Regions from separate parts of the Homo sapiens genome. Here all the other regions are linked to region 1. Evidence: promoter capture Hi-C in human tissues and cell types (Jung and others, 2019). All regions are on one chromosome and are shown on one strand. The core of a region is centred on a gene start or on the middle of the fragment in contact, and the rest is flanking DNA. Distances in the headings are between cores, read along the strand shown. Region 1 holds the start of RAB15 (RAB15, member RAS oncogene family). Region 2 has its middle 190 kb from the start of LINC02290. Region 3 has its middle 290 kb from the start of LINC02290.

Region 1 (4,674 bases), core at 629-3,128:
AAGAGTTGGCCTTACAGCTCCTCTGAGAAAGACGGACAAGTTCTGTTCCCTGACCCTAAGTCCTGTTGTTTCACCCTTCAAGTTGGTGAAACAAAGAGAGGAGACCCTAAAAGCTCAATGATAATGGCAATAGCAGTAAGAACAATCAGCATTTATCGAGCTTCACCATGTGTCTGGCTGTGCTAAGCACTTAACAATCGTTATCTCATTTAATCTTGACAACAACTTGGCAGGTAGGTGCAATTATTATACCCGTTCTACAGATGAGAAACTAAATAAAGCTCAGAAGTTTAGGCAATATTCAAGGTTGCTTTGCCCCACAGTGAGGTCTCAGGTCTCTTGGACAATAAAGCTGGCTTCTTAACCAGAAGGTTCTGTTCCTCCTGGCTGTATCTATCTGCTCCTACTTCTCTCTCAGCAAGGAATGTGTGTTGGGGGGAGGGGGGATGGTGTGGACATGAATCCTCAAGAGGAAGCTGAGAGCTGGTGCCCATCCCTGATGGCAGCAGGGACTTCTAGGAGAGCATTCCAAATGGATGACCAGCCAGCCAGCAGGTGTTTCCAGGGGCCTGGGCAATGCAGAGGCTACTCCAGGGCTGACCCGGGTAGCAGCTGAGGATGAAATTCCCTCTACTCAGACTTCTCAGGGAGGGGGCCCCTCACAGCCTAGAAGCGGGAGACTGACTGTCTCAGAGGGGAGGCCATGGACCCATTCCTAGAATAAGTGACCCCATCATAGTGCTGTCTGGGATGCCACCGGGTCTTGTCCCTCTAACCACAGGCTCCAGCACTGCCAGATGAGAGATGCCCTCAGGCGGGTCCTGCCTGCCTTCTGACCCCTTGGTCTGGGCAGGTATTCCTGACACTCCTCCATCCTCTTTAGCCTCCCTCAGAACAGATGTCTCCTCTTCCCAGGCGCAGGGGCTCCTCACCCTATCTGTGTCCTCCCCCAGGTGTCCCACCTTGCGGCTTACCTTCCCAACTCTGCCCTGGAAACTCGATCCCTGTGGCCCCTCCGTACGTCCTCTCTTCCCCCCCTCGCCCCCCGCCGGCTCCACCTTGGGTCACCACAGAACCAAGGGCGCCTCAGTGACTCCGGTCTCCACCCTGACCCCCTTTTCCGTAGCAGAAGCTTTACTTCCCCTCCCCCTGGGGGTGTGGGGATGTTATTCCAGCGGCTACGATTCTTGCTACCCCAGCTCGGGGTACCCAGGCCTACACCAGCTCCCCTCACCCCCGGTTTCTCGGTTTGATGGGACGGAAGGCTTCCCGGCAAGAGGCGGGAGACCCCACCCCTGGTCCGGACGGCAGGCAGCAGGGACACCCTCACCTGCCAAAACCTATGCTCACCCCGAGATTTATCCCGGACTCCGGCCTCCGGCGCCACCGCCTCCAGCCGGAGGGGCTGGCAATTCCTCCCCAGCTGGGGACGGGGGCGGCGGGGAAAGGGGCCGCGGGCGGGGAGGGAGGGGCGCCCCGGGCCACCGCCCCTTACCGATGGTGGAGATGTGCGAGGAGTGGAACTCGTTGTCGGTGAAGCGGCACAGCAGGCAGGTCTTGCCCACCCCGGAGTCCCCGATCAGCAGCAGCCGGAACAGCACATCGTACTGCTTCGCCATGACTGGGGCCAGCGGGGCCGGGAACTGCGGGCGGGCAGCGGGCTCAGCCCTGCTCCGCCGCTGCCATCGCGGCCCGCGCCCGCCCGGGGACGCTGCGGGCGGCGAGGAGGACGCCGGGCCCGGCCCCCGCGGCTGCCTCGCCCGCCCGCCTGCCCACTCGCTCGCTGGGTGCCGGGAAGCGCGGCTGCGGCGGGAGCCCGGCGCGGCGCCCGCTCGGCTCGGCTCGGCTCGGCTGGGCTGGCGCGAGGCGGTGGGAGGAGAAACCGGCGGCGGCCCCTGCCCGCCCCTTCCCCTGCGCCGCCGCCGCCGCCCCGGAGAGAGGGGGCGGGGAGCGCGCGCAGGAGAGCGGGACCCCATCGAGCAGGCGACGCTGGGGCGGGGCGCCAGCCCCCCCTCCCAACCCCTTCCTGCCCGGGGCGGGGGAACGTTTTCGTTTTTCCGCGGACGCTCCGAATGGGGGAGTTGAGGTGAGCCCCCACCCAGCCCACTTCTACCGTGCTCCGCTTTCCGGGCTCACCACTTCTCCCCATATCCCACCCCAAGTCTGGCGCCGGTAATTCCGCCCGCCGTGGCACCCTGCATCTGCAGGATCTGGCCGGGCTCCCCAGTGGCTGGTACCTCAGCTGGGCTCACCCGAGGTAGGAAGGCCTTGAGCAGGATCTGGATTCGAACACCCGTCTCCATGAGTCCCCGAGAGTGTGGGTGGAATTCCCCCTCCCTGCCATCTGGCTGCCCCTTACCTGTGTGACTGTGTCACGGCCCTCCCCCGTCCCCATTTTTTCTTTAAATGGGGAAAATGCCTATTCACGGCCTCCACCAGGGTGAAAAGATAGATGGCCATAAGAACATCTCCAAGTGCAAAATCCTTTAGAGGTGTGCGGGCAAGTCTCCGTTTTCCCTCTAAGGTGCTTAGGATAGGTGCCCAGGTGACCAATGTATTGTTTCAGACCCCTAAATTTCTCTGTGGTATAGCCAGTGGCACCAAAGAATGAATGGCCCTTGTTCAAGATCCAGTTTCCTACCACTGAATGTGTTAGCACCGGAGAGAGGCAAATGAATGCTCTCCGGAGTTGAGAAAATTGCCTATCCCTACCAACGAGTATTGAGGGAGAGCAAAGTCTAGCCTATTAGGTCTTTAAAAAGCAATGAAAGGCTAGGCGCGTTGGCTCATGCCTGTAATCCCAGTACTTTGGGAGGCTGAGGCGGGCAGATCACTTTGAGGTCAGGAGCTGGAGACCAGCCTGGCCAATGTAGTGAAACCCAGTCTCTACTAAAAATAAAAAAAAATTAGCTGGGCACGGTGGCTCGCCTGTAATCCCAGGCTTGAGAGGCTGAGGTGGGAGGATTGCTTGAACCCATTAGGGGAAGGCTGCAGTGAGCCGAGATCATGACACTGCACTCCAGCCTGCGCAACAGAGGGAGACCTTGTCTCAAAAAAAAAAAAAAAAAAGCAATGAAAAGTATATATGTACATACCTGTTTTCAGGCTGAATATTGGATGGAGAATGTATTTTTCAATAGTAGGTCAAGGAAAGTGGTAAGCCCATTTACTTCATTTGAAAAGGTATATTTCAGGTTAAGTGTCTGAATTATAATAAGAGGGGAAAAGTTCAAGACCAGCCTGGCCAACATGGTGAAACCCCATCTCTACTAAAAATATAAAAAAATTAGCTGGGCGTGGTGGCCGGTGCCTGTAATCCCAGCTACTCGGGAGGCTGAGGCAGGAGAATTGCTTGAACCTGAGAGGCGAAGGTTGCGGTGAGCCGAGATTGCGCCATTGCACTCCAGCCTGGGCAACAAGAGCAAAACTCTGTCTCAAAAAAAAAAAAAAAAAAAAGCCGGGGGGCGAAATCCCGAGCCTGCTAGCTACTCTGATTACACAGAAAGCTAAAGGAACTGATGTAGTGGATTCCATTATTTCGAGGTGCGCGTCTCCACAGTGGGCTTACATGGGGTTTCAGGTGCATGCCAAGGGCTCTGGAGTAAGGCACACTTGGGTTCCAGTCCCAGTGTCACCACTCACCAGCTGTGCAATCTTGAGCACATTACTGAACCCCCCTGTGACTCAGTTTCCTCATCTCAAAATAGGATATTTAGAGTGACTACCTTACAGGATTGCTGGAAAGATGAAATAAGATAATGCATGGAAAGGACAGGCCGTCGCGGTAGCTCACGCCTGTAATCCCAGCACTTTGGGAGGCCGAGGCGGGCGGATCACGAGGTCAGGAGACCATCCTGGCTAACATGGTGAAACCCCGTCTCTACTAAAAATACAAAAAATTAGCCCGGCGTGGTGGCGGGCGCCTGTAGTCCCAGCTACTTGGGAGGCTGAGGCAGGAGAATGGCGTGAACCCGGGAGGCGGAGCTTGCAGTAAGCCGAGATCACGCCACTGCACTCCAGCATGGGTGACAGAGCGAGACTCCGTCAGAAAAAAGAAAAAAAAAGAAAGGACAGCATAACACTTGACCCAGCACTCAATAAAGCAGAGGTGCAGAAAACACCCTGTAATGTTTCCCCTGTGCATCCCGGGTGGTAAGAATATCCCACAGATGAATATGGCCAGGGATGTTTTCTAGGAACCGAGGCCCAACCTGCTGTGATTTTCCTCCCACGACCACCAGAGTACCGAGCGCAGATCCAACCCAGCCTGACCCCCTTTGGGCACCGCAGCTGCCTTCCCATTGATCGGCACTGTAATGGTAAATAGCTCTCTGCAGGCCTCCTCACTGGGACCTTTAGTGGCTCTCTGCTTGCTTCTGTCTGAGAAAACAGGAAAGAAAATGCAAGCTGACGTGGATTCCTCACTTCATTTTGAAAGAAATGGCTTTCCCTAGGCAAGACAGGAAAGGGAATGAGGTTTGCTGAAGGAATCCAGAGAAATAAATGTTCATACTCATAAAAAATTGAGCATATGTAGTCATACTGGACTGACCTCAAATTCAGTAGCTTACATTGCTTTAGAAAAAAAAAAAAATGGCTGGGCGCGGTGGCTAACCCCTGTAATCCCAGCACTTTGGGAGGCCGAGGTGGTCAGATCACCTGAGGTCAGGAGTT
Region 2 (4,674 bases), core at 1,066-3,565, 950 kb after region 1:
TTCAACATCTCCCTTTAGCCAAGAGCTGCTGCTAGGTCTGGGCATGCCACCATCTGCCATGCAATCCTTGAAATTTGAGATGACAAATCACCAGGGTCACCTTTCTCTCTTTTCTCTTTTTCAGTGATGGAAATAGAATTAAAGTGTTTACTTTAAGAACTTTGAGCACATACCTGCTAAATGCACAGTCACTAGCCTGATTTACCTGGCCTCATTTCTGTATGTGTCTGCCTTCTGCACCCTTCCGCGTCATTGACCCCTCCTCATTCCCAATTTCTAAATACTGAATAGGATTTTGAATGTCGTGAGCACTGAATTACCTTCTCTGCAGTAATGCTGTGTGACCTTGGGATGGTCACTCAATCACTTGGTATTTCATTTTTGCTTCCAGCTATAAAACAGGGATAATAATACTGTTCTTGAACAACCAAAATGAGGTGTTCTGACAATCAGTTATGGAAGTGAATGTTTAAAATGAAAGGAAGAAGCCACAAGTTCCTGACTCTCTTGGATATTCCTGGATGTAATCCCCTGAGTCCTGGGCAGGAAGGTGCCGCATAGACACAAGGTAGATGGTGGGGATGCTTATGGTCATTAGCATGGGTACACAGAAAACTCATTGACTCCAGGGCACTGTAGTGAGAATGCACTAGAAGTAGAGTTCCCAAGTTGACTGTCATGGCCATCAAAATGTTTCTAATTTTCCTTACTTAATCCAAGCCAGCAATCTCAAATTTCTTCGTTGGTCATGGAGGAGGGAGATATGATTCAGTCTTGAGGATTTTTGAAGCCTCTAGACTGAGAGGTCTACGTGGGTGGTCCTATGGATTCTATGGATAAAATTAAATGGTTCTGTGAACTTGGGAAAAAATGTCTTTACTAGCCTTTAACTGAAATTAAGTATTTTTCTGTTATTATAAATGTGGGCAAAAAACCCCACAATAGTATTAGCAGTACCTATGTCTTTCTCACTATCAGAAACTGAAGAGATTTTCATGACATTACTATCGTTGCACATACCTTCAAGTATCATTTACACTGATCACTGGTTTGAAACTGCAAAAGTTATTAGACCAGCTGCTAGATCGGGTTAATAAAGAAGCACATGTGTAACAGTATTTCACACATTTGATTAAAAATATTTTTAATTTCAGTGTAATTGGTTTCCATTGAAACCCTATGTATTTGACTTTGTGTATCTAAAAACATTACTCTGGCTGTGTGCGGTGGCTCATGCTTGTAATCCCAGCACTGTGGGAGGCTGAAGCGGGAGGATTGCTTGAGCCCAGGAGTTTGTGACCAACTTGGGCAACATAGGGAGACCTTGTCTCCACAAAAAATTAAAAAAAAAAATTAGCTGAGCATGGTGGCACGTGCCTGTAGTCCCAGCTACTAGGGAGGCTGAGGTGGGAGGATGGCTTGGGCCCAGGAGGTTGAGGCTGCAGTGAGCCATGATTGCACCACTGTACTTCAGCCTGGGCAACAGAGTGAGACACTGTCTCAAAAAAAACCATTATTCTATAAGTGGTCATAGGAGTTCAAGGCACGGAAAGGTTAAGATTGCCTGTCTGCATCTATCTGCTGCCTCTGAGGCAAAAGCTTTGAGCAGGAGACACAGCCCAGGTCTCCCAGTCAGAAGGCCTGGGTCTGAGCCCTGGGTCCATTTCTGTCTAACTGGGGGCTCACTTAGTTTCTATGAGTTACCACCCCCCCAACTTCATTAAAAAGAGATAATAATTTCCCATATGGTTGACGGGAGTGGGAATTAAATGAAATAACAAATGTCAGGATGTTTTGTAAACTGTAAAGCGCTGTGCAAATGCCAGGTATTAATATTCAGTGGTTCCAGGCACTTCTTTTACTTAGCATTTCTAACATCAAGCCAGTAATGACAGAGATGGGGAAAAAAAAAACAACAATCTGGAGGCCAGATGCTTTGTGTGCAAGAAACAGGAGGAGAAAAGTACATTTGTGGCTTGAATTATGGAACATTCATGTGTGTGGTTAAGGATGTAATGAAATCAGATAGATCTGGGTAAAAATCCTTTCTTCTGCTGAGCGTTTCTGGCAAGTTTTTAAAACTCTCTGAACCTTAGTTTGTTCACCTGGAAAATGGGAATTCTAGCTATCTCATAGTGTTACTGGTAAAGATTAAATAATACTTATGCCTATGCCCACACAAAGGGTTTAAGGGCCATGTTTGGATACTTTTCCAAACCCATTGTTTTTTTTAGCAATCTGAGATGGAGCAAATGATAGAGAAAAAAAGAGTACAAGAATTGTAGAATTTCTTCATGAGTTGCAGGTCCAGAAGCTTTAATTTTCAACAATGTGTTTCAGATAAGTTTTACCAAGAATATCTGTAGTGCCCCTGATGAGCTTGACCTTCCTTCCGGTGGGCTGGAGAAAGCTTAAAGCTCTCATGATGCCACTGGTAACCTCACCACACCCTAATTCACATTGCCATCCACGATCGTAGCCACTAGTCACATGTGGATATTTAAGCTTAAATTAACTAAAGCAAAATTTAAAATTCAGTTTCTTAGTTGCACTAGTCACATTTCAGATGCTCAGTAGCCACATGTGGCTAGTGGCTACCACAGAATTGGAGAACATTTCCTTTATTATGCAAATGTCATTGGACAGCACCGTGACTCTGTCTGTGAAGGGCTAAATCTGCCCTGAAAGCGCAGCCTAGACTACAGTGGGTTAAATTTTTTTTTTTTTTTTTTTGAGATGGAGTCTTGCTCTGTTGCCCAGGCTGAGTGCAGTGGCACGATCTCAGCTCACTTCAAACTCCGCCTCTGGGGTTCAAGCAATTCTCCTGTCTCAACCTCCTGAGTAGCTGGGCTACAGGCACATGCCACCACACCTGGCTAATTTTTATATTTTTAGTAGAGACCAGGTTTCACCATATTGGTCAGGCTGGTCTCGAACTCCTGACCTCAGGTGATCCACCCACCTTGGCCTCCCAAAGTGCTGGGATTACAGGCATGAGCCACCATGCCCGGCCTACGGTGGGTTAATTATATAAAACGAGGCAACAAACAACCTGGGATCTACCCTTCCGACACCCTCCAACCTTCCCCACTAACCCTTCTAAATCTTAGCAGGCTCCAGGTATGGAAAGTGCCCACTCAAGGCCTGTTTGCACAGAGCATTGAGCGTGTCTCCAGTGCCCCCAACACCGTTCCTGGACCTCATGATGATTCTCAAGGGATGGTCAATGCAAGAAAAAGGAGCATTCTTTCTGTCAAATCCTGTTCTTCCTCTTCTACTCCTACCCATTTCTTCACAACGTCTCTGATTATTCTCCCAGGGTGGAGCTTCGTCCCCATCCTCTGTAATCTCCCCTACTTCTGGATTTATCTAATTAGAATTTAAATTAGGAAAGGATTGTAGGAAAAGTGGTGATTTCGGTGTGCCTTTTCTCTTTGTGTGTTTCACGGTACAGTAGTCCCCCCTTATCCACAGTTTCACTTTCCCAAGTTTCAGTTACCTTTGGTCAATCATTGAAAATATGAAATGAAAAATTCCAGAAAAAAACAATTCATAAGTTTTAAATTACATGCCATTCCAAGAGTGTGATGAAATCTCCCACTTTCCCTCTCTGTCCTGCCTGGGATTGAATCATTTCTTTGTCTAGCACATCCATGCTCTGCATGTCCCCTCCTACGAATCACTTAGGAGCTGGCTGTTATCTGATCAAGTGTCAAGGTATCGTATAGCTTGTGTTCAAGTCACCCTTATTTTACTTAATAATGGCCCCAAAGCGCAAGAGGTATGATGCTGGCAATTCGGATATGCCAAAGAGAAGCTGTGAAGTGCCTACTTTAAGTGAAAAGGTGAAAGTTCTTGACTTATAAGGAAATTTAAAAAATCATATGCTCAGGTTGCTTAGATATTAAATAAGGATGAATATTCTATCTGAAATTGTGAAAAAGGAAAACGAAATTTGTGCGTAATATATATATATAGGTTTCAATACTATCCATGGTTTCAGTCATCCAGACTAAAACTTAGGCACTTCAGACCCCCAGGATATGGGGGTCTTGGAACATATACGCCATGGATAAGGGGGATTACTGTAGAGGAGAATCTGACACCTACTTCCTTTTTTTTTTTTTAACCTACTTTTTTTTGTTTTTGTTTTTGAGACGGAGTCTTGCTCTGTCGCCCAGGCTGGAGTGCAGTGGCACAATCTCGGCTCACTGCAAACTCCACCTCCCGGATTCAAGTGATTCTCCTGCTTCAGCCTCCCGAGTAGCTGGGACTACAGGTGCACGCCACCATGCCTGGCTAATTTTTTGTGTTTTTCATAGAGATGGTGTTTCACCGTGATAGCCAGGATGGTCTCGATCTCCTGACCTCGTGATCCGCCCACCTCAGCCTCCCAAAGTGCTGGGATTATAGGCATGAGCCACTGCACCCAGCCACCTACTTCCTTTGATAGTGTTACCGGGGGTCCTTGCTCACAGAGCTCCCAAGATGGTGGCGAGCATCTTCCAAGATGGTGGCGGGCCACTTCCAAGATGGTGGCAAGCCTTGTGTTCTCTGACTTGGGGTTCTTGGCCTCATGGATTCCAAGGAATGGAATCTTGGGCCATGCAGTGAGTGTTATAGCTCTATTAGAAGCCGTGGGTCACGGAAGAGAACCGTGGAAGCCAGTGACTA
Region 3 (4,674 bases), core at 969-3,468, 850 kb after region 1:
CTCTTAGGTAGGACGATGATGTCTAATGCATCTATTTCCCTTGCTACATTCTATTTCCATTTCATTCTGAGATCCTGCTAAATTCGGAAGGTTGCCCTTGGGTTTTCAACACTGCAGGGGATGATTTAAATCTAAATAATAATAAAAAGCCACTGCTTTTATTGTACTTTTATTTTATAAGTTGATGGAAACATTTCATATACACATTAAGTTTTGTAACCCAATCTTGGTACTTGCTGGGTCCCGGAGGGGCTGTTTCACTACTTGGGACTTCCCTTGTGTTTGCATTATCCCTCCAAGGCAGAAGGAGAAAATGCTTTCACTGAAGCCAGAATAGTGTTTTATTTGAAATAATTCTCATTTAAGGCAAGGCACACACATTCCAAGTGCACATACATGCACACACAGTCTCTCTTATATGGGCTGCATCATAAAATCACAGAGTTTTGGAATTGAAGGGACCTTAGAGATCATCTGTTCTAACACCAGCATGTTACCTATGAGGAAGCTTCTGCCAGACAGGTTAAGTACCTCATCCAAGGTCACAGGCATGTAGTGAAAGAGACCAGGCTACAATTCAGATTCCCTGACTCAAGTCTAATTTTCTTTCTGCTACACCATATTGACTCCAAAATAAGATAATGTATATGAAATCACTTTGAAAACTGAAATGTATTACACAGGTATTCAGTGTGGAGAAGGAGAATTACAATGAGCTTGCTTTCTTCAGAGGTGAGCATGACTTGCTCAGGTCTCTTCCCGGATAAAGTAAGTTCATGGTGTGTGAATCATGAACCGTATTTCTAATTAGGTTTCTGGGTATGGCCTCCAGAAAATGAGCATCAAAGGGGTCAAACCAAAACACAGTCTTCATTCAAGTCCAGCTCGTGTATAGCTCTACTTTTTCTTCCTTCTCACCCTCTCTGTCTGCCTCCCTCTAGTGTCCACCTTTAGTTATTGCATGTGTGCCCCGCAGAAAGGCTGCATGCAGACTACTATCCACCATGTTCACCATTATTTGTTCAAATTACCCCCCTATTTCTTGATATCAGTAGCTGTCATCACGACCAAATTAGGATGCTTTTTATATCAACAGGAATAAATGACTAATATAAAGACCTGGATATTAAGAAAAGTATTTAAAATCGTTTTGTGATTGGAATGATAACACATTCAAAGTTTGGTAATTAAATTGTCTTTAATAGACTTAAATCACATAAGAAGCCCTTATAATTAATTGAAATGTTTTAATTACAAACATAATTATTTTTAAGGTAGAAGGCCTATTAAATTAACTAACACATGATTCATTAAAAAAATTACTGCTTTACATGGAATGCTGTCAATTACTAAATATTATTGCAAATTACTTGAAGGATTAAAATTTTATTTTGGTACTATTAATAGATTAATGTATTAAATCATATAGTGATTATAAATAATATTTAATTAGTCCTATGTTGCCTTCTTTAATATATAGACATATCTATATATCTATATTTATCCCTCAGTCATTGTAACGTGTTCCCTTGAAAGAAACATGTCTAACTTCATATTCTAACTAGGATCCTTGTTAATGTGTAAAATATTGACAAGAACACTCACAACTCATTGGTAGGAGATTCTTTGGTAGCGTTGCCTAAATGCTCTGGATCAAGTAGAACAAATTGGCTGCTAACAAAGCCTGTAAACTATGGATCCCATTTCCTGATCTTAAAAGATCCATTCAAAAGTCTGAACGACATTTACAAGTAAGAGCCTTCCACCATGTTCCCAGCTCTTTTCAGCCTGTGACAAATAGGTCAACGTGCACAGTGAGAAGGGGAACTGTGCATTGTTCTCCTGCCTCATTTCTTGAGTTGGCTGTACCTCCTGCCTTGATCCTTCACCTGTCCCTCCACACTCCTCATTGTCTAGAGATGCACACATGATGCCAAGCACACCCGTGCACACGCACGGGCACACATGCACTCTGAAGGCCAAAAGGCAAGAAGTCATTCAGTTGGATGGCTGTAGCTGGGTCTCAGAGGAGACGGTGTGCAGCTGGAAGCGCCATGCTTGCTGGTTTACTTGCTGCTCAGCAATATGGAGTGCTTTGCCAACAGACTCCTACTGCTTCTTCCCCTCTTGAGGAGAAACTGTCAAACAACACGAGGATAAAAATTAAGCTACAAATAAAAATGTTTACAGCTTTCAATAGAAAGTCAATCCTATTTTAACACTCCAAAAGTATTCTCCAAAAAGTTCAATGACACAAATTGCGAGGGTGATTTATTGCCGGGTGAATGAAATGACCAGATGCCCGCAATCTGAATGGGGCTTTTCAGGGATGCTTTCGGGAGGAGTTTCACTGGACCTCTGAGGTAGGAAGTTGGGGGTGAGTATTGTTTCCACTGCCTATACTTTTTCCTTTACCTTCTTCTGGCGACAGACCTCTCCTTCCTCCCTGTTGGGTGCATGTGTGACCCAGAAGAGACCAGTCACAGCTGCTCTTCCCCAGCCACAGGGGTGAGTCCAGGGACAGACACAAAGCAAGGCAGAGTCCTTCCCCGAAACTGTGCTTTCTTCATGAGTCTATAAGGGCGCAAGTCCAGATCTCTGGTAGCGAAGGAAGCAGTCTTTTAAGGATGTGCAGACCAAGGGAAGAGGCAGGAGTGGCTGCCTAAGAAAGAATGCCCCAGTGCCACCGTCCCCAGGGCCAGTTGCACCCATATTCTTTCTTTGCAGCTTAGGATTCTCTCCCCTTTTTGGCATAAGTTAACTTGAATAGAGTTGCTGTTACTTGCAAGTGAAAGAACCTTAAATAATACAGAAATGACTCCAAGATTTAGGTCAGAAGACACATTAGTGAGGCAGCAGTTGCAAGTGACAAAATTCCGTCTTCAATTAGTTTAAGCATAAAAAATAAAGGATTGGCTTGAGGAACAGAAATGTTCAGGAAAGCCTTCAATTTAGGTTTCCCTGATTCAAGCACTCAGACGATATCTTCAGGATCCCACTGAAGGCGTTCTGGAAATGCCAGCCCCAAATATGCCACTGTGGTGTGCTGATGACTTTGAAGTCAGGGGACTTGGGAAACAGTGATGCAGGCAGAGACTTTCTCTGAGCCCCTTTATCTGCCTAAAGACGGATCCTCCGAAAGGAACTCAATTGTCATGAATCCCCTCCTGGGAATCTTCTCAACTGGGGAAGATTAACTCAGCTCACAGGAAAGAAGAATAGAGGTTGGCACCAGCCCAGGCAGATTGTCACCTCTGCTCCTGAGACAATATTTGTTACCGGAGAGACTTTTATCTGCATAACAAGACAGCCTTTATTCGCACAAATTTCCTCCCCTCACGCTCCCATAACTTGTGTCCCCACCACCCCCCAAAGCCCCAAGCCCCTATTCCTTTCTGTAGCTCAGGATGCTGCATAAGCTTCAATCACTTGGCCCGTCTTCAAGGTTTATTCTGCAGGACTGCCATGCATATGTATATAATTAAACGTGGCTTTTCTCCTGTTACGCTGTCTTATGTCAATTTAATTCATAGCCTAGCCGATGAACCTAGAAGAGTAGAAAGAAACCACTTTTCGCTCCCCTGCACCACTTTTTCTCCAACCCTCTGCTCCGTCTGTCTTCCCCAGTGTTAGTTTTCTTCCCAGGGTGGCTCTCTGGCTTTCTCTGCACATGGTAAATATCTGCCACGTTGCACCCCGCCCCACCTGAGGAACTTCGCGCTTGCAAGGTTCTTAGTTCCCACAAAGCAGAAGGAAAATTCCCCTCCCTCCCCTGACACCCACATCACCCCCAAAGTGAACCAATCACTGAGTCCAGAGGTGTGGGTGCTCCACTTGGTCAGACATGCTCTGGGCCTGACCTGGAGGTGGAGCTACTTTCTCACTGCACAAGCAGGATTTTTGCCATAGAAATGGGAAAAGGATGACCCCCACTGACCCCCACCTCTTTGGGAGAAGATAAAACTTGTGGTAAAGGGAAGATTGAACATAGAATACAAGGAACAGGCAAAGCAGATCAGAAACTATGAAGCAGCAACAGAGGCGGCCGGAAGATAACATGTCAGGCATGCAACCCACTGGCTGCTGAGACACCGGACATCCACAGAGCGTCTGCTGTGCGCGCAGGGCAGCACCAAAACACTGCACGTTTTGGTTGCTGAGCCATCTCCTGAAAGGGAATCAGTGCAGGCAGCTGGCAAAGCAGTTCAAGGTGGTCAAGGGGCGGATGGCAAAGAGGAGGACAAGGTGAACAGCACCAACCAGCCATCCTACATCTGCTCAGCTGGGGTGGCGGCATCCTCCTGGGCACATAGGATGTGAAATCTGCTGGTGGCGTTTTGTTTTTCTCTCCCTTTTGTTTGTTTAATTGACAAGAGTATGTTTCTCTTTCTCTTGGCTTGACTATCGTGAGAAAGGAGGGCGGGCTCAATTAGCTGTAGATGCCTTTCCTGGAGGCCTAGGAGCTGTTTAAAAAGGCACAGGTGTGTGGTGGCTACACGGTATCACCTGGGATTTACTCCCATAAATGGGTCAGGTGTAAAAGAACGGCCGTTAATTAATGCTGATGAGCTGAAGATGCATTGCTTACCCTGACTGCTCAGCATGGAATGTGTGAGTTAATTCCAGGAAATCTAATTACTGAAGTTTCTAGTTTGCCTCTCCCTTCCCTGCGAT

The links. Contacts are between HindIII fragments. The study calls those that stand out against the background at their distance.
Region 2: a contact is called between a fragment that was not itself captured here and the fragment with the promoter of RAB15 in region 1, in 1 of the 25 tissues and cell types used here (small bowel).
Region 3: a fragment that was not itself captured here is called in contact with the fragment with the promoter of RAB15 in region 1 in 1 of the 25 tissues and cell types used here (dorsolateral prefrontal cortex).

Annotation. Positions count from the first base shown.
Region 1 is chr14:64,970,458-64,975,131 of GRCh38, forward strand. It overlaps RAB15 (RAB15, member RAS oncogene family), which reads right to left and starts at 1,879. Exons shown (of 7, transcript NM_001308154.2): 1 at 1,496-1,879. The coding sequence starts at 1,619. All of the region lies in intron 3 of CHURC1-FNTB (CHURC1-FNTB readthrough), which reads left to right. RefSeq lists a silencer at 1,672-2,041 and an enhancer at 4,216-4,674. The HindIII fragment of the contact is 7,421 bases long and covers 68-4,674 here.
Region 2 is chr14:65,920,420-65,925,093 of GRCh38, forward strand. No RefSeq gene overlaps it. Among named protein-coding and RNA genes, the nearest start is that of LINC02290, 190 kb to the right of the region's middle. The HindIII fragment of the contact is 3,337 bases long and covers 648-3,984 here.
Region 3 is chr14:65,823,951-65,828,624 of GRCh38, forward strand. No RefSeq gene overlaps it. Among named protein-coding and RNA genes, the nearest start is that of LINC02290, 290 kb to the right of the region's middle. The HindIII fragment of the contact is 4,796 bases long and covers 1-4,616 here.